5 separate regions of the Homo sapiens genome follow, and all the other regions are linked to region 3. The links are contacts of gene promoters, found by promoter capture Hi-C in blood cells and fetal thymus (Javierre and others, 2016). All regions are on one chromosome and are shown on one strand. Each heading gives the region's core, a stretch centred on a gene start or on the middle of the fragment in contact. The rest is flanking DNA. Distances are from core to core; before and after follow the strand shown.

Region 1 (4,022 bases), core at 301-2,800, 310 kb after region 3:
TCACTATGTTGGCCAGGCTGGTCTCGAACTCCTAACCTCATGATCCGCCTGCCTCGGCCTCCCAGAGTGCTGAGATTACAGGCGTGAGCCACCACGCCCAGCCAGCTCTTCCTATGTATTTATGCAAGTACAATAACTAGGGTTTACCTTTTTAAGTATATTGATTAAGTTTGGTTAAAGAAAATAGATCTGCTAATACCGAACTTGATTTAAACCACTTTAATTACTTTTACTTGGAATGTATCTGTGGAATGTCTTAACATATATCTACTTAGAATAATTTTAAGTTTTAGAATAAATGCATTTAAATTTTGTATCTGGTATAAAACTGTGCTAAACATATCTCTCTACAGAGGAAAGAAATTAGTGATTCATATTCTGGAATAGAACATACTTTACTAATATTAGCACCTAAACATTGCAGAATTTTGTTATGATGATAAACTTGCCTTTGATTCTGTGCTTTTTTTTTTATACTTCGGGCTTGTGTTTCACTTAGATTATTGGGTTCTAGAAATGGCTTGAATTTACAGTAATTGTTTAAAGTGTGTTTGTATTTAGGTGGATATTAAAGCTCTTGAGTGAAGGGTATTTGAGTTTATTCAGACTAACTTTTTAATTGTCCCAACAAGGGAACTGTGCAGCTTAAGTCTAAACAGAGTTCAAAGACTCTTAGACTGTCACGGAAGCTGTATTCCTTTGAACTTTAGAATGAGACTAATTGACCCTTTAAAACAGATGTTTTTAAGAGGGCTCGGTGACAAACTGACTCTTAAAAAGGCATTCGATTGCCTGCTTTGTTTTTCATTTTGATAGAAGAAAGAAGAGTTCAAGTTCGCAGTAATTTGTTGATAAATTTGTGACTAAGTTATTAGAGGTGCTGAACTTTGACTTTTCTTTACATGATTTAAACTTTGTATATAGTAATAATACTAGTTGGAGAGTGAATAGGGTTGGGTAGGACTAGGATATTCAAACAAATAAGTCACTATCACATATCTAAGATAGAAACTCATCTCATCTCGAGGAAAAATGGTCCAGCTTTCACATAGGACCAGATGTTTTGTGACAGTAAGTGTTTTACTTCTATTACTTCTATTTAGGGTATTAAGCTTCCTTCAGACTCTTTAAAGAATTTAAATTCAGGTCCTTAGCAATTCCCATGCCTCTCTATTAAAAGGCCATCATTTTAATTTTGCCAAAATTCTTTTCTATTTTTAATGTTATTGTTATCTTATCACATTTCTTAATGCTTTCTTATGTGTGCAGATGGTGAGTTATCTTAAATTAGATTGTATTAGTTATTGTCCTGTTCTATAAAAAGAATAAATTGAAAAGATTTTCGGAGCATTGTACAATAACATCATAGATTTGTCCCTATATGTCTGCACTATGGAGTCAAGCTGTCATCCCTTGTCCCCCTCCCCAAGACCACCCCACTTATGTATATATTCCAACCCCTAATAATCTGGGAGTTGAGGAAGGCAGCAAAGGAAAGTAAGTCATTCCAAAATACTGCTTCCCTCTGAAGCCAGTTTTGAACCCCTTGGCTTCTTTTTATAAACAGGACTGTAACTCTCACAATTTTTCAAGTCTGGTTGTGGTTTACATACTGTGTGGGATGGGAATAACATTCTTCATTTTATGAAAGAAATTTTTGCACATGTGTTACGGAGGGTTGTAGTACAAAGCTGTATGTTTTGCCCCCCTTCTTTGTCCCCCCAGCACCCGAATCTTAAAATTTTGGTCCTTCAGGAGCCAGATTCTCTGTGTCTCAGGAATGGTGTTTTTCTTAGTCTTTAAAGACTAATCTTGATAGCCTAGTGATAGTTGTAGGCTTTGGCCTCTATTAATTTATACCAAATCACATTTTGAACTGATGGATTTCAAACTACAAGTACAAGCCTTTGCATCTGACTCAGTGGACTCTTAACACTCAAGGCAAATTTCATCCTTTTTTAACTAAATGCTTGCTTTCTTAATTGGATGAAGCTTGCACTTTGTTCTTATCTCCAGTATATTAACAGCATCTGAAACTATCCTCTTCCTTTGTCTCCCTCTCCTTTCCTCCAGCACCTCTACCTTCCCTTTGTTATCTTAAGCCGGTTAAATGTAGCAGGCACTTCTCTTACGTGCTAGTGGCAACAAGACAGAATTGAAGCAGATCCTCTTTTTAAAAAGCAGTTTCCACAAGATTTATTTAGATGAGAGATGACTGCCTTTAAAAAAATACATTTTCTTTCCCCCATGTGTTTGTTATCAGAGTTGCTTTGTCTTGTGTACATGCAACTAAGTTTATGTGTAAAGTAAACATACTTAATTACAAGTATGAAGGTGACAGCTTTGTTTTCAATTATTGTTAAGAAAACTATTCATTAGGCTTATTTTCAGTTGGGATTTAGAATTCCATGGAAGTCATACTATCTGTTTAAAGTGTGTTTATTAGAGGTAATGTAGTTTTTGCTTAAAACGTAGATGTAGATTGTTTGCTTAGTCTTAGCTGTTACCTCTTTAATGGTTGCTGCTGTATCGATGCAACTCGTCTCGTAATAGAACTATTTTTGTTTGGAAGTGACAGAGCTAGTCTAGGTAGGTATTCATTCTAAACTTTACTCTTTTAATGATTTATAATTCTTGATTTTGTTTTTAGCTGGGAAAACTCTTCAGATTTTTAACATTGAAATGAAAAGTAAAATGAAGGCTCATACCATGACTGATGATGTCACCTTTTGGAAATGGATCTCTTTGAATACGGTTGCTCTTGTTACGGATAATGCAGTTTATCACTGGAGTATGGAAGGAGAGTCTCAGCCAGTGAAAATGTTTGATCGCCATTCTAGCCTTGCAGGGTGCCAGATTATCAATTACCGTACAGATGCAAAACAAAAGTGGTTACTTCTGACTGGTATATCTGCACAGGTAACATTTTAACTATTTTTTTATGAAGAAGAGGTTTAGAACACGGTTGTGCCCAGAATGCAGTTTGATTTTGAAATTAGGTCTTTCTATACTCAATCCTGTTGAATTTCACTTATTTTGGAAGACTTTTTTTTTCCTTCCTCCCATCCCTTCTCTTCTCCTTCCTCCCTCCCTTCTCTTCTTCCTCGCTCCCTTGCTATACTGACATATAATTTCAGAATGCTCTTACCAAGCGTTTTTAGCTCTTCTGTGGAGATTGAGTAGAAATTGAGTTTCTGTAAGAATGATTTGGGATTTATTATGGAGTATTTACTGCAGAATGAATGCTTCTATACCTTTTTGTTTAAGACGTATATGAGGCATATTTTAAACATTTATGTTAGGCTTTAACAAGATAATGTTTGGGGCTGATTTTAAGTTAAGAAGTATCAAATCTACAGTGAGAGATGAAGTGACAAATAATTATAAATCCTGCTAAAGATGACAAAGCATTCTAATTATTTCATTACTTGATGAATCTGAGAGTTTTTGATTTATGGGTCTTCAAACGTTATTCTCTTTGATCCTTTATAGCAAAATCGTGTGGTGGGAGCTATGCAGCTATATTCTGTAGATAGGAAAGTGTCTCAGCCCATTGAAGGACATGCAGCTAGCTTTGCACAGTTTAAGATGGAAGGAAATGCAGAAGAATCAACGTTATTTTGTTTTGCAGTTCGGGGCCAAGCTGGAGGGAAGGTAAGTTTTGGCTTTGGTAATTATTTTAATGAGAACTTGTATTTGGCTTTCTGCTATGAATTAGTCATCTAATTTCAAAATAGCCTTCTCCCTTCCTAAGTAATTTTAGTATTCACATTTGTGGTGACTTAATTTGTTCAAATTTTGCATCTAGTGATACTTGTCTAAAATGAATAATGTTCTTTCACAACTCGTTCTGTTGGCTGTTTATATTCTTTGATTGCTAAAGTGCACATTTATATGCTGTACATCTAGAGAGTTTGATTTAGTAGGTGTTGCCTATAATTTTTTTTGTTTATTTGTTGCTTTTTGAGACAGGGTGTCACTCTGTTGCCCAGGCTGGAGTGCAGTGGCGCAGTCATGGGCTC
Region 2 (4,179 bases), core at 402-2,901, 370 kb after region 3:
TTAACATTCTTTCCACTAATTTTAACATAAAAGGGGTTACTGTCTTTGGTGGGGCAGAAATTCGTTTGAGGTGGGGTCAAGAGATAGAGCAAAAAGAAAAAGCAATGGATATAAGGCGACACAGAGGAAAGCAATTTTTTTTTTCTCCTAAGAAGAAAGGATAAGCATATTTAAATGTTAATAGGATGAAGCCAGAAGAAAGGCAGGTAAATGCTCAAGATAGAGAAAGACTTTATAAAGGGATGTGGTTTTGGAAAGGAAAAGGGACACCTTTCCCAATTTCAGTTTTAAATCAAGTAGGTCCACGGATTTGAAGGCAGGAAAGTATTCCCCCTGAGGGAAGGAGCTCAGACAGAAGTTAAAATGGAGTAGAGAAGAGAAAGGCGGAAATAAAAGGTGTGGCAAAATATGGCAGGATTGCAGAGGAATATTGAAAGCATGGTTAAGATTAATGATGACTTTTTAATGGCAACATACTATTTGTGATTTTCTCCAGTAGTACTTAGAAGCCAAAAGACTAAAACTACTAATCACTTCCTCCAGACATACAAACTAACCTCCATCCACACTCATCCTTTGCTCTCCCCTCCTACTGAAATGGTAGTTGGATGTATCCAAGTTTAAATTATGCCAGGAGCACGCCCCAAGACACAGTGGTACAAGGGAATTTAGGATAAGGGTAAGAATGTTTGACATGATAGACCATGCAACCTGTGTTATTACATTTTTCTCTTTTGGCCTACCTGATAAAAAGCAACCTGTATTATCAAAGACTGATTTATGGACAATAAAGTGATGCATGCTATTTATCTAGACATGCTGTTGAAGAACAGGTGTAATGAAAGTAAACTGGAAAGACTTAGAGCGATGCATAGGGTTTTGATTTTGGAGACGAACAATTACAAAGAACATAGCTATAGGAATGGGTATCTGAAATAGAAGTGTGACTACTTTCTACTTTTTCAATTCTTTTAGTTTTATGATATACTGCTTCCCTTCCACAAATACTGATTGACCCTGTTCTAGAATCTAAGGGATACAGGAGTGCACAAAGCAGAAAAAGTCCTTTCTCTAATGAAGCTTACATTTTAGCAATGGTTTTGAAATGGTCCAATCCTAATTTTGAATTTCTTTCATGCTGTTTTAAAACTTTGGGGTTTTTTTGTTTGTTTGTTTGTCTATTTGAGATGGAGTCTCGCTCTGTCGCCCAGGCTAGCATGCAGTGGCGCGATCTCAGCTCACTGCCAGCTCCGCCTCCCGGGTTCATGCCATTCTCCTGCCTCAGCCTCCCTACAGGCACCCACCATCACACCCGGCTAATTTTTTTTTTTTTTTTTTGTATTTTTAGTAGAGACAGGGTTTCACCGTGTTAGCCAGGATGGTCTCAATCTCCTGACCTCGTGATCCGCCCACCTCGGCCTCCCAAAGTGCTGGGATTACAGGTGTGAGCCACTGTGCTCGGCCAAAACTTTGTCTTTATAGCTCAAAATTTCCACAATACTTTGACATGTATTGTTATTTGATCCACTGAGAAGTGAGGATTACTGCCATATCAAAAATGAAGAAATTCAGACCAAGAGAAGTTAAGTTCAATAAAACAAATGTTTACTGGCTATCTATGTGCCAGCCATACACCCTGTTAAGCTGAGGATATAGTGATGAATATGGGCCACTGTCAGCTGTTCATAGATAAGTAGTGAAGACAAATAATTGCAAGACTGGTAAATGTTATAAAAAGGTGTTTGACAGTCCCATCGGGGGTGAGATGGGAGGCAGTAACAGATCATCAGACATTAGATTCTCATAAGAAGTACACAACACAGATCCCTCGCATGGGCAGTTCATAACAGGGTTCACACTCGCATGAGAATCTAATGCTGTCGCTAATTAGACGGAGCTCAGGAGGTAATGTTAGCGATGGGGAGTGGCTGCAAATACAGATAAAACTTCACTCAGTTGCCCACCACTCACCTCCTGCTGTGCGGCCCAGTTCCTAACAGGCCACAGGGACGCCTGTTCTAAAAGATACCTGAGCCTTGACTAGCAGTTGGCAATAGATACAGGGAGATCATTTCAGAGGCTGCTATAATGTAGTAATAGTTAACATTTATGAAGTGTTCTGCTACACACTGGCTAAACACTCTATAGGAATTGTCTTCTTTAATGTGCCTAACAGCACTTCAAGGTAAATAGAGCTGGTCATGGACTTACTGTAGTTTCGCTTAAGCTTTTTGGCTTTACAATGGTTCAAAAGCAACACATATTCAGTAGAAACTTTACCCATACAAACATTCTGTTTTTCACCTTCAGTACAGTATTCAACGAATTACATGAGATATTCAACACTTGTAGGCCTTATGTTAGATGATTTTGCCCTATTGTACGCTAATAAATTAAGTGTTCTGAGCACCTTTAAGGTAGGCTAGGCTAAACTACCATGTTTGGTAGGTTAGGTGTATTAAATTTATTTCCAACTTCTATTTCCTTTTCTAAGAGACAGGGTTTCACTCTTTTGTCCAGGCTGGAATACAGTGGAGTGATCATAGCTCACTGCAGCCTCGAACTCCTGAGCTCAAGCAATCCTCCCACTTCAACCTCCCCAGTAGCTGGGACTACAAGCACATACCACCACACACTGCTAATTTAAAAAAAAACTTTTTTTTTTAAGACACAGGGGTTTCATTATGTTGCCCAGGCTGGTCTCGAACTCTGGGCCTCATATGATCCCTCCCACCTCAGCCTCCCATGTAGCTACATTTACAGGCATGAGCCACTGTGCCTGGCTCTCAATTTATGGTACTTTCAATTTATGATGGGTTTATCAGGATATAACCCCACCCTAAGTTGAGAAGCATCTATATATAATTATGATCCCCATTTTTCGGATGTAGAAAAATGAGGTACACAAGTTATAGCTTGCCTAAATTCACCCAGCTCATAAGTGGTCGTCTTAATCCAGAGCCCTTGTTCTTTTTTCTTTTTGAGACAGAGTCTTGTTCTTGTCTCCCATGCTGGAGTGCAATGGCACAATCTCGGCTCACTGCAACCTCTGCCTCCTGGGTTCAAGTGATTCTCCTGCCTCAGCCTCCCAAATAGCTGGGATTACAGACACCCGCCACTACACCGAGCTAATTGTTTGTATTTTTAGTAGAGACGGGGTTTCACCAGGTTGGCCAGGCTGGTCTCAAACTCCTGATCTCAGGTGATCCAGCCACCTCGGCCTCCCAAAGTGCTGGGATTACGGGCGTGAGCCACCATGCCCTGCCGAGCCCTTGTTCTTTTTTTTGGAGACGGAGTCTCACTCTATTGCCAGGCTGGAGTGCAGTGGTGCAATCTTGGTTCACTGCAACCTCCACCTCTGGGGTTCAAGTGCTTCTCCTGCCTCAGCCTCCCAAGTAGGTGGGACTTCAGGCATGTGCTACCACACCCGGCTAATTTTTGTATTTTTAGTAGAGATGGGGTTTCACCATGTTGGCCAGGCTAGTCTCGAGCTCCTGACCTCAGGTGATCCACCCACCTCGACCTCCCAAAGTGCTGGGATTGCAGGCGTGAGCCACCATGCCCTGCCGAGCCCTTGTTCTTAACATTACTATATCAGGCCTCTCCCAGCAGTCTAGATGAGATGATGGTCATTTAGACAACAGTAGTGGGAATGAGAAATAAAAAAAGTGTCTAAGGTACACCTGTCTGATTTAGTGACTGACAGGAAGTCTGGTGGCAAAAGAAAGGGAGAAGTTAATAATGACAGCTAGATTTGAACAAATGGAGAATTTTGGTGAAATACCAGGTTTGAATGGAAAAGATAATGAATTAGTTTTGTTCTGAACAAAAGACATCTCAGAGATATCTAGAAAGAAGAAAAAAAAGGATATATCAGCTTAAAGGACAGAAAGGTCTAGGATATATCAGTTTAAAGTCAGAAAGGTCTGGGCTGGAAATATAGATTTGAGAGACCTTACCATATAATTGAAGTTACTGAAGAGATGGAAGAGTATGAGGCCACTTGGACAAATATGTAGAATGAAGAAAGGACTAAAACATAATCCTGAGGAAATGAACATTAGGAATCAAAGGAGACTGACATGGAGTGGCCAGGAGTAGGAGGGTCACATAGGGTAAGCTGTAGTGCACCTAGTTTCAGTGCTCTTCCACTCAAGTGCCTAAATACGGTGACAGGGC
Region 3 (4,411 bases), core at 863-3,362:
TTACTTTGTTTCACTTACTTCATTGTTTCACCTCTCCCTTCTCCTTTACCAGCTCAAAATGCTTGGCTCTTTTTGACTGGGAGGAGGCATGATCAGGCTTAACACTTTTTTTGTTATTGGCCGGCTGGCTGGTTTTATTGTCTCCTGACCCTAAGGTCTGGGGCCTCTTCCAGTCCCCTGCATACACACAGCAGGCCTGAAGGGGTCCTCAGAGCTCCCTCTGAAACCACTGTATCAGGCTAGTCTTCTTTAGCTAACGTTATCTTTTATTTAAACAGAAACAGTAGCCACCAGTCTTGTTACATAACATACCAATATCCTAGGGTGTTAAACTAATTCAGCATCTACTGTTAGGAAGTGGTGATGTGGCAACACAAATATTCGCTCACACAATATTGCGGAAACGTTGTAACAAACATGACTTTCTGGCCCTACTTAGAATTTCAGAGCTGGAAGGGACTTGAGATCATCCTATTTCAACCCTCCTTGTTTTAAACTGTGGAAACCTAGGCCTGGAGAGACAAAGAAACTTGCTCAAGAAGCAGATCAGGGCGAGACGGCAAGCTCTTACTAATCTAAAGAATCCATCACATCTTAGATTAAGGATTAAATGCTAAACAGTTCTTGTTTGTGATTCCTCTCATCTGAAAGCATTCCCCCCCCCCCCCCGTTTTAGACTCTCCAAACTAGTCAGTTGTGAACCAGGACATAGCCTTTGTTTACACTGAAACTGCAAATCTGAGGCTGATATGTCAGCCCCACAATACTGAGGTATTTGGGGTGTTTTGTTGTTTTTACTAACCTTGGTGACTGGATTCACATGCAATAGATATTAACTGAATACAATTTGGTTGACCAAGCATATTTTAAAAACAGCTGGGTGGAGATGCAGGTGAGCCAGCATTCTGGGTGTACGTGCAAACCAGTGTGTGGAAGGCGGAGAGTCAGCTGCACCTCCTGCAGCACCTCACATCCTGATGGCTGCACAGTAAAACACTAGTTTCCTTGGAGGAAGAGTTCCCAGAGGAACTGCGGAACCCCAGTGTCTTGAGCGAAAGGCAGGACCTGCTTTGTTCACCTTGTCCGTGCCAACATTCTTTATCAAACTGTCCTGTTTTCCTGCTGGGAAACTGCCCCACTCCACCCACCTGGTGCCTCCCTGGTTTCCTGACTGCCACGAGGTTATTTTTTAACCTGCTCTTCCTTGAAAAGCACCACCCCGGTGACCCAGAACGTGGACTCCTCCCCTCTGGTCACTCGGACCATCCCACTCTAATTACCGTCATCTGCCTCTGAAAGTCATGGAAAATTAGCAGCAATGGGGCGGTCTTCAATTCCACTAAGCCCCTTTCGTACTTTTAATTCGCCGAAATTACTAGCAGGGCAGAGAGAAGAGGGGAAATGCCTGGCTTCTGAGCAAGGCATGGGTGGGCTGGGTGCAACTAGCACTATCATTTTCTTTTAATTTTATTATTATTATACTTTAAGTTTTAGGGTACATGTGCACAATGTGCAGGTTTGTTACATATGTATACATGTGCCATGTTGGTGTGCTGCACCCATTAACTCGTCATTTAGCATTAGGTGTATCTCCTAATGCTATCCCTCCCCCCTCCCCCCTATCATTTTAAATTCAATTACCCGGGGCCTGAGGGCCACTTCTGGTAACTTAGGCTATGGCTTAGGGCGAGGTTTAAAACGTAAGAAAGGAATGACTATCTTGAGCCTCCAGGGAGATGCACTGCAAATCCCCCCGCCCCAAAATACAACCCAGGTTCTGGGAATCCCAGCCCTGCCCTGGGGACAAACCCCAAACTCAAATAAACGGCCTCCTCCTAGGCGCTGAGAGCCCACCCAGCTTTGGCACTCTGGGTCCCTGCCCTCCGGCAAGTTGCCGGGACGGGCGGGACCCTAACCAGCCGCTCTCCCCTAGCCCAGGCTGGGCCGGGCCGAGGGGTGGGGGAGTGGGCGGTCGGGGAAGCGGGGGGCGGAGTTCCGTCCTCTGATGATTGGCTCTGCGCGGATGGGCTGCGGCTGCGCCCGGCCAACCCGCGGCGTGTTGCTATGTGCTGAGCCGAGGGGATAGGTGCGGGGGCGCGTCCATCACGGGGTAGCCCCCGGCCCGGACCCGGAGGGATGCGGAGTGGCGGCCGCGGCGGTGGCGGAGACTGTGGCTTTAAGAGCGTGCCGGGAGCCCGAGCCCCAGCCGGGCCGCGCTTCGCCGCTGCGCACCCCAGCGGAGCCAAGCCCCACGCTGGCCGGACAGGGCCGCCTGTCGCCGGGTAAGTGCACCGGAGTGCGGCGCGGGCCGGGCGCGCGTGGGCGTGGGGCGCGCTGTCAGCTCGGGCTCTGGGTCCCCGGCCCCGGCCTCCGGACTCCCCCGGCCGGGCCTGCGCGGGGTTGGGGGTGCGGCGCCCTCGGTTCCGCGTGGGGTCCCCGTGGGCGCCGGGGACGGGGAGCGGCCGCCGGGCCACGTGACCGGTTTGTTTACAAACACTGCCGGGCCCGCGGCCGCTCGCGGAGGGAGCCCAAGGGCGCGGGACCCCCGGCCGGGGCGGGAGACGCGCGCCAGGGGCTGGGCGAGTCTGCGGGGCCAGGTTTGGGGCGGGGGTGCGGAGCTGGAATCGCCGCTTCCTCCTCCGCGTCGTCCCCATGGGTTCGGACTCCATGGGGTCCGGGTGGGGCTGGGGACGCCCTCCGTCCTCTCGTGACGCCGCGTTTCCCTCGGAGAGTCCTGGGGACACTTAGGTCCAGGGGCGCCGCCCTGGGGGCCTTCCACTGTGGGACTGGGCGCCCTCGAAATTTCTCGGAGCGCGTCGTCTGCCCCGACCCGGGTCGAGGTAACCGCAGCCGAGTTCCTCCCTGGCCGCGTCTCGGCGCCTCCCCGGTGTCCTTGCCAAGGGGGTGGGCGCGAGGTCCTGCCCGACGGAACGCGGGAGCCTCTGCCGCGAGCGCCTCCCCGGAGCTGGCGCTTAGGGGCGGCCCCGACCTTTCGCCACTTCCAGTTCACCCTGCTTGGCCGCCGACCTCCTCTGGTGTCTTTCCCGGAGTGGTGGGCTTTTCTCCGGTCTTGGGGGCGTGCGGGGGTGGGGGACACCTGTTCTTCTGGACTTCTTGTCCGGAAGATTGCTACCTCTGCCTTCAGTCTTAGCTGCGAGAGTTTAAAAAGCCAGGTGAGCGAGTGTCTTGTTTTCCTCCGCTTGGAGCGGAGCTGCACCCTCGCCCGCCCCCCAGTCCCGCCGCTGTGAAAGGCCCCAGAGAACTGCTCCGAAGCTTTGCTGGGGTTTTTGCTTTCTGGCCTCCTTGCTGATTTGCTGTCCTTGCAACTTGGGAGGCTCTTGAGTGAGTCCTTGCCTTTGGTGAATCTGAAGGCTAACGAGACAGCTGTCTTTTCCTCCCTGCCCTTCCTTCCTTGTTCTTCCTTGTTCCAAAGCATTGGGCAAGAAGGGTAGCGGTCAGCTTCCCTGTGCCTCACAGAGCATTAAAGATGCAAGAAGTTCAGTAAACCGCCTCACTGGCTCTGGGGTGGGACTTGATTTCACATGGTTATTGCTCCCCCGTGCTTTCCTGCCTCTGGGGGCCACAGGGCCTATGAATGGCTGAGTCTTGCCTCCGGTGAGGAACATTTTCATTCTTCTAAACTGTGTTTTGAGTGGCTGCAAGTTCTTTTCCCCAGAAACAGGCCCAGCCTGGGGAGAGCTGTGCAGACTTCCCCCTTGGCACCATCCCCTGTCCCCAGCTCCATGATAGGATCTCAGGCAGGAGTGCAGTGGGAGCCTCATCCGCTTCCTCAGTTGGGCTTTGCCGCCGCAGGTTAGCATTCAATGACAGCATTTCTTGGATCTGTCTTGATATTTCTGTGCTTGAACCAAAATCAAGAAGCTTAGAGTTAGGGGTGGAAAATGGAAAATAAACACCATGCGCGAGAAAACTGTTTTCCTTCTTCCCTCTAGGAGCATGGTTTTCAGACTTTGAGTGGGACCTGCACTGCATACAGGTCTGTAACTGAAATAAGTTTCAGAGAACAATAATTACCCTTACTCCCTGCAGTGTGCTCTGTTTTAAAGGTTTTTTTTTCTACTTCATTTAAAAAAATCAACTGCTGGTTATGACCCATTAATTTGATTTCCTGACCAAGCAGGTCCTGACCCATAGTTTGAGAAGCATCGCTTTAAGGCAGAGGTCCTCAAACTTAAATGTGTATAAAGATGACCTGGGTAGTGTTTAAAAATAGTTTGTCAGGCTACTCCGCAGATGTTTATTTTCAGTGGGCCACAGGAATCTGCATTTTTACCAGGGGACCTATGAGATTGTGATGCAGGTGCTTGATAAGAGCCCCTGATCTAGTGGGAACTGGAGGCAGTGAACAATGAAAGGTATTAACTTGGCTCTGAAGTGCAGTCAGGTATGT
Region 4 (4,183 bases), core at 414-2,913, 300 kb after region 3:
ACTTCAGTGATCCCAAACATACTTAAGTTTTCCAGTAATTGAATCACTTACTGGTTATTATTTAATTTTAATTACTTTAAAATTACGGTAACCACATTTCAAGTGCTCATTATGGTATGTAGGTTGTGACTTGTGGTTACCATATTGGACAACACAGGTTAAGTCTAACCTCTTGCTTTTTTTTCTCTGGGAAATGGGCATACTTATCTCACAAAGTTATTATGAGGATCTGAGATCATGTATGTGAAAGTACTTTACGTAGCATTTTAGGAGCATTAATTATTGGCTAAATAATTTTTGTCCAGTACATTTTATTCAGGTATCTCAACCAATGACACAATATTCATTTACAGATCCAGTGTTTTATGGTGTATAAGTATTTGGGGTTAACACATTTACCTAAGATTTGAGTACTTACTGCAGATGAGGAACTGTGTTAGACTCTAGGGACAAGGTGGTAAACAAGATGGACTACACCTTGCATTCATGCTTCCATTGATGAGTTGGCAAAGGCTGTACACTTGTTATTCCAACCATTGATGTTGTCTACTTGATTGTGGATCTTTTATGTGTTCGAACATTTGATATTGTGCACAGTTTAATACAAATATTGATATGATACAAAGTTGATTACACTCTGAAACTGCCCCCCAAAAAGAAACTTTTAAATAAATCTTTTATTATGTTCCACGAGTCTCATTGTGTGCCACTGGTACATTTTAAATTAGGGTTCCTTGAACAGACATATTTGAAAAAAAAACTTAATGAATCATATCGGATAAAATACCCATATGGAATGCCGGTCAGGCGATTGTTAGAGTTATTGTATGTGTTGTATGTGTCCTTTTTTAGGGTGGTAGTGTTGAAGTGAATCTTCTCACTTAGATGAGCAGTAGGTTCATGGCTGATATTTTAGTCCTGTATATTAGAATGAGGCTGTTTCTCTAAGTTCATGCACTATATGCCATGCCAAAACTACTTCATGAAATAAACCTGTCTTCTGAGCCACAGCAAAGTTTACAGCTCTGGGTGTCTTGTCTTTGCTTCTTGGTTAAGTGCCTATGGCTAATGCTCTTAACTCAAAAGATGGCTGAAAGCTTGGACCTAAATGTGTTATGCAAAACCCATCTGTCAGACTTTTGTGAGTCTCTTCTTTTGTATTATCTCCTTAAATTAAGACATAATTTAAGATATTTTTGTCCTACTTTTTTTGGGGGGTGGGGACAGGGTCTCACTCTGTTGCCCAGGCTGGAGTGCAGTGGCATGATCAAGGCTCACTGCAGCCTTGACCTCCCTGGGCTTAGGTAATCCTCCCACCTCTGCTCCCTAAATAGCTGGGACTACAGGCGTGCGCCACCAAACCCGGCTAATTTTTGTATTTTTTTTGTAGAGTCGGGGTTTTGCCATGTTTCCCAGGATGGTCTCAAAATCCCGGGCTCAAGCAGTCCACCTGCCACAGCCTCCCAAAGTGCTGAAATTACAAGTGTGAGACACCAAGCCTTGTCCTATTTTTGAGGCAGTAACTATTCAAATCTTAATTGTCCTGTAATCTAATCCATAAAATCAAAATACATGGGCCATTATAGTTGTTTGAGCACCTATTACGTGCCAAGAACTGTATTAAATATTTAATGTTTATTATCTCATTTAATTAGCAAGAGAACCCTTGTGCTTAGGTCAGATTAGCCTTATTGTAGAGATTGGGCAACTGAAGTTCATAGTAGGTAACTTTTAGAGTCACACAGCTAGTGAGCAGTCAGACTTTTAATATTTATTCTTTCATTTGGCTCATTGCCTCATTTGGTAAATGGTCTGTATCATTTGAATTGCAAAATGTACCACAATTGTTTATATCTATGCTGTGATGTTCTTTGATTCTAGTAGTACTGTCGTTTGTTTATCGTGAAATATTTTTTATATTATGAGAAAAGTAGGAGACAGCAAACTAACATCTGACTTTATGCCTTGAATGATTATTTAGCTGTATCTTTTTTAAGGACTTTATCCTGTTTCCTATTGGAAAATTGTGCAGGATGATTGGGATCCGGTTAACTTGTAACCAGGATTGTCTGCATCCCTCTCATAAGACTGAACTTGTCACACTTTTCTATAGACTTTTTCTTACTGAAAAGAATGAGTGTGTTCCAGTCTGAAGCCACTTGTGAAAGGAGGAAACTTCTGCTTTCTATTTTACTGTAAATTCATGTTTTTGTGTTTATGCCAAGAAATAGAAGCTTGAACTCAACGAAGGCAGTTGTGCATGAAAGGGATAGGAAATGAAGGTGACAATGGAATATATTTGCTCATTTTGAGTAGCATCATGGTAGAAAGGAAAATGGTTACAGACTTGTAGGGTTGTGCTTTGGAGGCAGACTGCCAGTACTGTTAATACTTCTTGTTCCTAATCCTTAGGTAAATAAGGATTTTCTTCAAGTTCTGAAGTAAGACGGTTTTAAAGATTATTGCTGAAAGAATAGGAACCAGATCCATTAAAGCCATATTTTGTCACATTAAAAAACTCTGCAGTGTGCTATTCTGGAAAATGTCTCAGATGTTTAATCTGGGCTTATCTATTGATTATGTCAGGTTTTCAACTTGTCTCAACTTCCTCATTTATTAAAACAATATTTCCTGGCAATTTTAAAGTTAGACTACAGTATGTTTTTGTATTTGTAGTATAATATTTAGCCCCTTAACCCCTTACAGGCACTCGAATATTAGTTCTTCCCCTCCACCCTGGAAGAGTTTCCCTTTGTCCACTTGAGTTGAATATATGTGCCGTACTAAAGGAGAAAAACTACCATCTACCCAGTTATTGAAGCCAAGATCTTGAAGTTACACCAGACTCTCTAATTTCTCATTTTCTGCATCCGTCGATTTCTGGAGTTCCTCAGTGATGCACACTGGGGGTCTCAGGGATGACAGTTTTTCATGACCCTAGGTTGAAACTGGGAGTCATAGAAGACGAAAAAACGAGAATTGGATTGGGAGTTGACTCTGTTGCCCAGGCTGGAGTACGGTGGTGCAATCTTGGTTCACTGCAACTTCCGCCTCCCAGGTTCAAGCAATTCTCCTGCCTCAGCCTCCTGAGTAGCTGGGACTACAGGGGCCCGCCACCAGGCCTGGCGAATTTTTTTTGTATTTTTAGTAGAGATGGGGTTTCACCATGTTGGCCAGGCTGGTCTCAAACTCCTGACCTCAAATAATCTACCCTCCTCAGCTTCCCAAAGTGCTGGGATTACAGGCGTGAGCCATCGTGCCTGGCCAACTTGCATTTATTTCTGATTAGCTGCTCATCTGAGAAAGGTGGCTTAAAAAAAACCACCAAAGTGGACAGACTGAAGCTAAAGACTGTCAGTATATATGCTCTGCTTGGCAAACAGCTGACTTTGGATAGATCTCATTATTTAAAGATGAATAATAAGGGGGAAAAACGTGTAGAGAGAACATGGTTTACAAAAACCCATCTCTTTCTCCAGTCTCTGCAATATTCTATATTTGGTCATATTGAACTATGAAAATCTAAGGCAGGTTTCTTTATTTTACCACAGATATCCTCAGGAAAGAGTCTCCTTATTAAAAGCCTTACTGAATCTCCATAGTATTGTGTCCTCTCACAGTTGCTTCTGTTCTGAGCACCAGAATGCTGTTTGGCAAAGGCTGCTGTAGGCTTGAAATCAACTGGATTAGTGAGAGACAAATTTTACACATCTAAAATTCTCCTGTGTATGGCCTCACAGTTGGAACTGTTGGATGTTATAAGCAGATGATTTAAATATCCCGTGAAAAGCAGTCCATTCGGGCATGTTTCTAGAGATCATAATTTTTTTTTTTTTTTTTTTTGAGATGGAGTCTTGCTCTGTCGCCCAGGCTGGAGTACAGTGGCATGATCTTGGCTCACTGCAACTTCTGCCTCCCGGGTTCAAGCGGTTCTTCTGCCTAAGCCTCCCAAGTAGCTGGGATTACAGGTGCCCGCCACCATGCCTGGCTGATTTTTGTAATTTTAGTACAGATGGGATTTCACCATGTTGTCCAGGTTGGTGTTGAACTCCTGACCTTGTGATCCGCCTGCTTTGGCCTCCCAAAGTGCTGGGATTACAGGCATGAGCCACCACACCCAGCCTAGAGATCATAATTTACATAGAAAGATAAGAGAAAAACAACTCTCCTGATAACGCAAATA
Region 5 (4,021 bases), core at 170-2,669, 390 kb after region 3:
ATTAGCCGGGCCTGGTGGCGGGCGCCTGTAGTCCCAGCTACTCGGGAGGCTGAGGCAGGAGAATGGCATGAACCCGGGAGGTGGAGCTTGCAGTGAGCCGAGATGGTGCCACTGCACTCCAGCCTGGGCGACAGAATGAGACTCTGTCTCAAAAAAAAAAACAAAAACAAAAAACAAAAAAAACAACAAAAATTAGCCAGGTGTGGTAGTGGGTGCCTGTAGTCCCAGCTACTTGGGAGGCTGAGACAGGAGAATCACTTGAACCTGGGAAGCAGAGGTTGCAGTGAGCCGAGATTGTGCCACTGCACTCCAGCCTGGGCAACACAGCGAGACTGTCTCAAAATAATAATGATAATAATAATAATAACTGGCACATAATGGACCGTTGGTATATATTTGTTGAATTAAGAATTTGAAGTGGCTTTGTAATTGTGTGATTTTCTTCAGTTATGTTCAGCTTCTTAGACAGATCATAAGAATGCAGATGATTCTGGAGGCACTGCAGTTTTACAAAGTTTTACAGTACGTATGATTGGGGGAAGAAGAGGCAAAGTGAGGATGTTTTCAAGGGAATTTTGAAAGGCAAGGAAAAATGTTAAATCCTTTAGAAAATGGTTAAAATGCAGAAAAGCTTTGAAGTTTTTATAAGCTTAACTATTAAAACACTAGTGGGTCTTTTATTTTGGCTGTTTCATACTTGGGATGGTTTTAAATCATGCTAAATGGTCAAAATGCCAAAAAAAAAAAAAAAAGGGTTTTGATGCTTTTATAAGCTTAACTGTTTAGAACCTCAGTGGCTCTCTTGTTTGGCCTTATGCTATATTTCCTTCTTTTGGGAATGGCAAGAAGGTTTTGAAAAGTTGTTTTTTAAACTGCAAATTTATTTTGTTTATGAAGAAATAGACTGATGAAAATAACTTAGTTCCCTGGGTTATTTCTTACAAAACAAAATTTCAGACTATTATGTTTTCCAGAGAGAATTTTGGAGAAGGAAATGTCAGTATGCTGTTCTTTTTTAGCACGTTGTGTAAGAGCACATTATTTGCTCAAATGAAAACCCCTGTTGCAATAGCTTAAAAACAAAACCTTCAAATAATTGTGCAATACCATTGTTATAAGTACGCACTCATAGACCCAAAATGTTTTGGGTAAAACAATGACACTATGGGAAAGAGTAAATAGGGGCAAATGAGTTCAATTATCAGTGTTTTGTAGGAGAAAGGTTTTAGAATGTTATTTATAAGGCAAACCTTTTTGTGCCCTGTTTATCTTTTCATCACAAATTAAATAAATTTTACTTACTGTGATAGAGATGAATGGCTGGCTTTAAAATATCTTAAATATCCTTAAATATCTTATTTGTAAATATTTATCATATATTTAGATATTTACAAATGTTTAAATATCTTCAAAATATTTTTTAAAAGATATTGCCTATAGGATTTGGCTGAATATGAACACACATAGTTTTTTTTGTTTTTTTTTTTGTTTTTTTTGAGATGGAGTCCTGCTCTGTTGTCCAGGCTGGAGTGCAGTGGTGCAATCTCGGCTCCCTGCGACCTCCACCTCCTGGGTTCAAGCGATTCTCCTGCCTCAGCCTCCCGAGTAGCTGGGATTACAGGCGCAAGCCACCACACCCAGCTAATTTATGTATTTTTAGTAGAGACGGGGTTTCGCCATGTTGGCCAGGCTGGTCTCGAACTCCTGACCTCGGGTGATCTGCCCGCCTCAGCCTCCCAAAGTGCTGGGATTACAGGCATGAGCCACCACACCTGGCCAAACCCACATAGTTTTAAGTATTTGCAGAACTTAAGTATAGCTTCAAGTTAAATGACTGGCAGATGGAAAATCATTAACTTTTTTATATGGTTCCATTTCAAACATCCTCAGTTGATTTTTTTATTAATAAAATTCAGATTTGTGAAATAGATTTCCATTTTGTAAACCTATTGTGATGCTCTAGCATCTTTGGTTTTTGTTGTTATTGTTTTGTAATTGCTTGGGCTACATTATCTTTTGGCTGAATCTTCACACAAGTATGACTTAAGTTTGCAGAGTCAAACTTTAAGCTTCTATGAACTGGTCTGAATATTTTGTCCTGTGAGCTCCGATAGTGCTTTCTACTTCACGATCTTCATAATAGCTAGTATATATTGAGGTCACGTGAAAGGTGAGGCAATATGTTAGTATTTTATGTACATTATCTTGTTTAATCCTCAACCCTCTGATGTGTGTCATGTTATCTCTGTTTTACAAATTAAGAAAAACTGATGTTTAGAGAGATTTACAAATTTCTCCAGTCTGTTAGACTTTTTGTTTTTTTTTGTTTTTTTTTGAGACGGAGTCTTGCTCTGTCTCGCCCATGCTGGAGTGCAGTGGCGCGATCTCCGCTTACCACAAGCTTTGCCTCCTGGGTTCATGCCGTTCTCCTGCCTCAGCCTCCAGAGTAGTTGGGACTATAGGCGCCCGCCACCATGCCTGGCTATTTTTTCGTATTTTTAGTAGAGACAGGCTTTCACCGTGTCAGCCAGGGTGGTCTCGATCTCCTGACCTCGTGATCTGCCCGCCTCAGCCTTCGAAAATGCTGGGATTACAGGCGTGAGCCATCATGCCTGGCCCTGTTAGACTCTTAAGACCTGACTAAAACATTGTCTTTTCATCTAATTTTATTAAAATGCCTATTTCATCCCATTCTGTTATAATTGATTTCTTGTGTTCATTTGGCTTCTTTACCAGACTGTGATCCTCTTGAGGACAGGGACCTCCTTATCCTATTAATATTTGTATCCTCAGTGCCCATTGGAGACCCCCGAACTTTTAAAATGAGAGCTGAATGAACAACACTGGCATCACTGATACAATAACAATGAGGCATGTGCTGTGAAGTTGTTTTTTATAGTTTAGGCATTTTGTACGTTTATTACCTCCTACTCTTTTGATGTATTGGTATTTATAGTCACACATGCATGCGTATCAACAAACATACACATGCATACATAGATTATTTCATCTACACATCAATCATTTGAAAGTGGCAATTATTGTCCTCATTTTGTGAATCCAAACAATGAAGGACTAAAGAAAATGAAACTTTGCTTAAGATCACACAACTAATCAGTGGCAAATCTGGGATCAAATCCAGATTTTTCAGATTTTAAATCTTATGATTGTCTACTTAAGGCTATCTATACTAATAGAAACCTATATTTTATTTCTTGATGTGTTTATTTGCTTATTCAGCATTGAAGACAACAAAACAAAGGTATACACAAATGGATTGTATCTTAAAAAGGAGAATATTACAGTGATGAATGTGTGCTTTTTTTTCTAGTGATTTTTATAGGCTTTCACTTGTTTTCCTTTATGAGGCATAAATTTTGAAAATAGTTACAATAGTTAGAGTTTAGACAAGGAATAAATTAGCACCAGCTATCAAACTACAGGAAGATTGGACCCATGACCATATCATATTCTGATCAGCTAAATATAAATCTAGCATGACTCTTGGCACATACAAAGTGTTCAGTTAGTATTTGTTCAGTGAATAGGTAAACAAACCTTATACAAGCATCTTATCAAGTGACTTCATGAATTTTCTTTCTTAATAATATAACCCCCTAACTCATATATCTGACTTTGAATTCTAAATTGTCACTGAATCCGCTCATAAAATATAAAAATTTGAGCCACTTGGCCATGAGAATACTCCTAATACTCTTGGGTCTTCTATTAAATATAGAGACGCGTGGGTAGTGGCTCATGCCTGGAATCCCACCACTTTGGGAAGCTGGGGCAGGAGGATCGCTTCAGGCCAGGAGTTCGAGACCAGCCTGGGCAACATAACTAAATGAATGAATGAATAAATGAGATTATTTATTTATTTATTTATTTATAATCTATGAATATATTATTCATATGTATTCATAACATATATTTCCTATGAATATTTGGAAGTTTGGATAGTTCCTGCTGGTGACTATTCTTAAACAGCTTTATTGAAACATAATTCACATATCATATA

The links. Contacts are between HindIII fragments. The CHiCAGO score rates a contact against its expected background, and 5 or more counts as called.
Region 1: a contact is called between a fragment that was not itself captured here and the fragment with the promoter of YPEL2 in region 3, in 4 of 17 cell types (M1 macrophages, endothelial precursors, M2 macrophages and 1 more). The highest score is 9.2, in M1 macrophages.
Region 2: a contact is called between a fragment that was not itself captured here and the fragment with the promoter of YPEL2 in region 3, in 1 of 17 cell types (endothelial precursors). The highest score is 5.3, in endothelial precursors.
Region 4: a fragment that was not itself captured here is called in contact with the fragment with the promoter of YPEL2 in region 3 in 3 of 17 cell types (M1 macrophages, M0 macrophages and M2 macrophages); the score reaches 8.7 in M1 macrophages.
Region 5: a fragment that was not itself captured here is called in contact with the fragment with the promoter of YPEL2 in region 3 in 1 of 17 cell types (endothelial precursors); the score reaches 5.4 in endothelial precursors.

What each region holds. Positions count from the first base shown.
Region 1 is chr17:59,644,748-59,648,769 of GRCh38, forward strand. CLTC (clathrin heavy chain) reads left to right here. Exons shown (of 32, transcript NM_004859.4): 3 at 2,651-2,919; 4 at 3,493-3,654. Among named protein-coding and RNA genes, the nearest start is that of CLTC, 27 kb to the left of the region's middle. The HindIII fragment of the contact is 880 bases long and covers 1,111-1,990 here.
Region 2 is chr17:59,700,540-59,704,718 of GRCh38, forward strand. The region is part of intron 1 of PTRH2 (peptidyl-tRNA hydrolase 2); the gene reads right to left. Among named protein-coding and RNA genes, the nearest start is that of PTRH2, 4.8 kb to the right of the region's middle. RefSeq lists enhancers at 2,742-3,246, 3,247-3,750. The HindIII fragment of the contact is 1,147 bases long and covers 1,079-2,225 here.
Region 3 is chr17:59,329,543-59,333,953 of GRCh38, forward strand. It overlaps YPEL2 (yippee like 2), which reads left to right and starts at 2,113. Exons shown (of 5, transcript NM_001005404.4): 1 at 2,113-2,282. RefSeq lists a silencer at 1,879-2,398 and an enhancer at 2,609-3,170. The HindIII fragment of the contact is 8,765 bases long and covers 1-3,271 here.
Region 4 is chr17:59,625,696-59,629,878 of GRCh38, forward strand. All of the region lies in intron 1 of CLTC (clathrin heavy chain), which reads left to right. Among named protein-coding and RNA genes, the nearest start is that of CLTC, 7.9 kb to the left of the region's middle. The HindIII fragment of the contact is 1,137 bases long and covers 1,096-2,232 here.
Region 5 is chr17:59,724,816-59,728,836 of GRCh38, forward strand. The region is part of intron 1 of VMP1 (vacuole membrane protein 1); the gene reads left to right. Among named protein-coding and RNA genes, the nearest start is that of VMP1, 19 kb to the left of the region's middle. The HindIII fragment of the contact is 1,296 bases long and covers 772-2,067 here.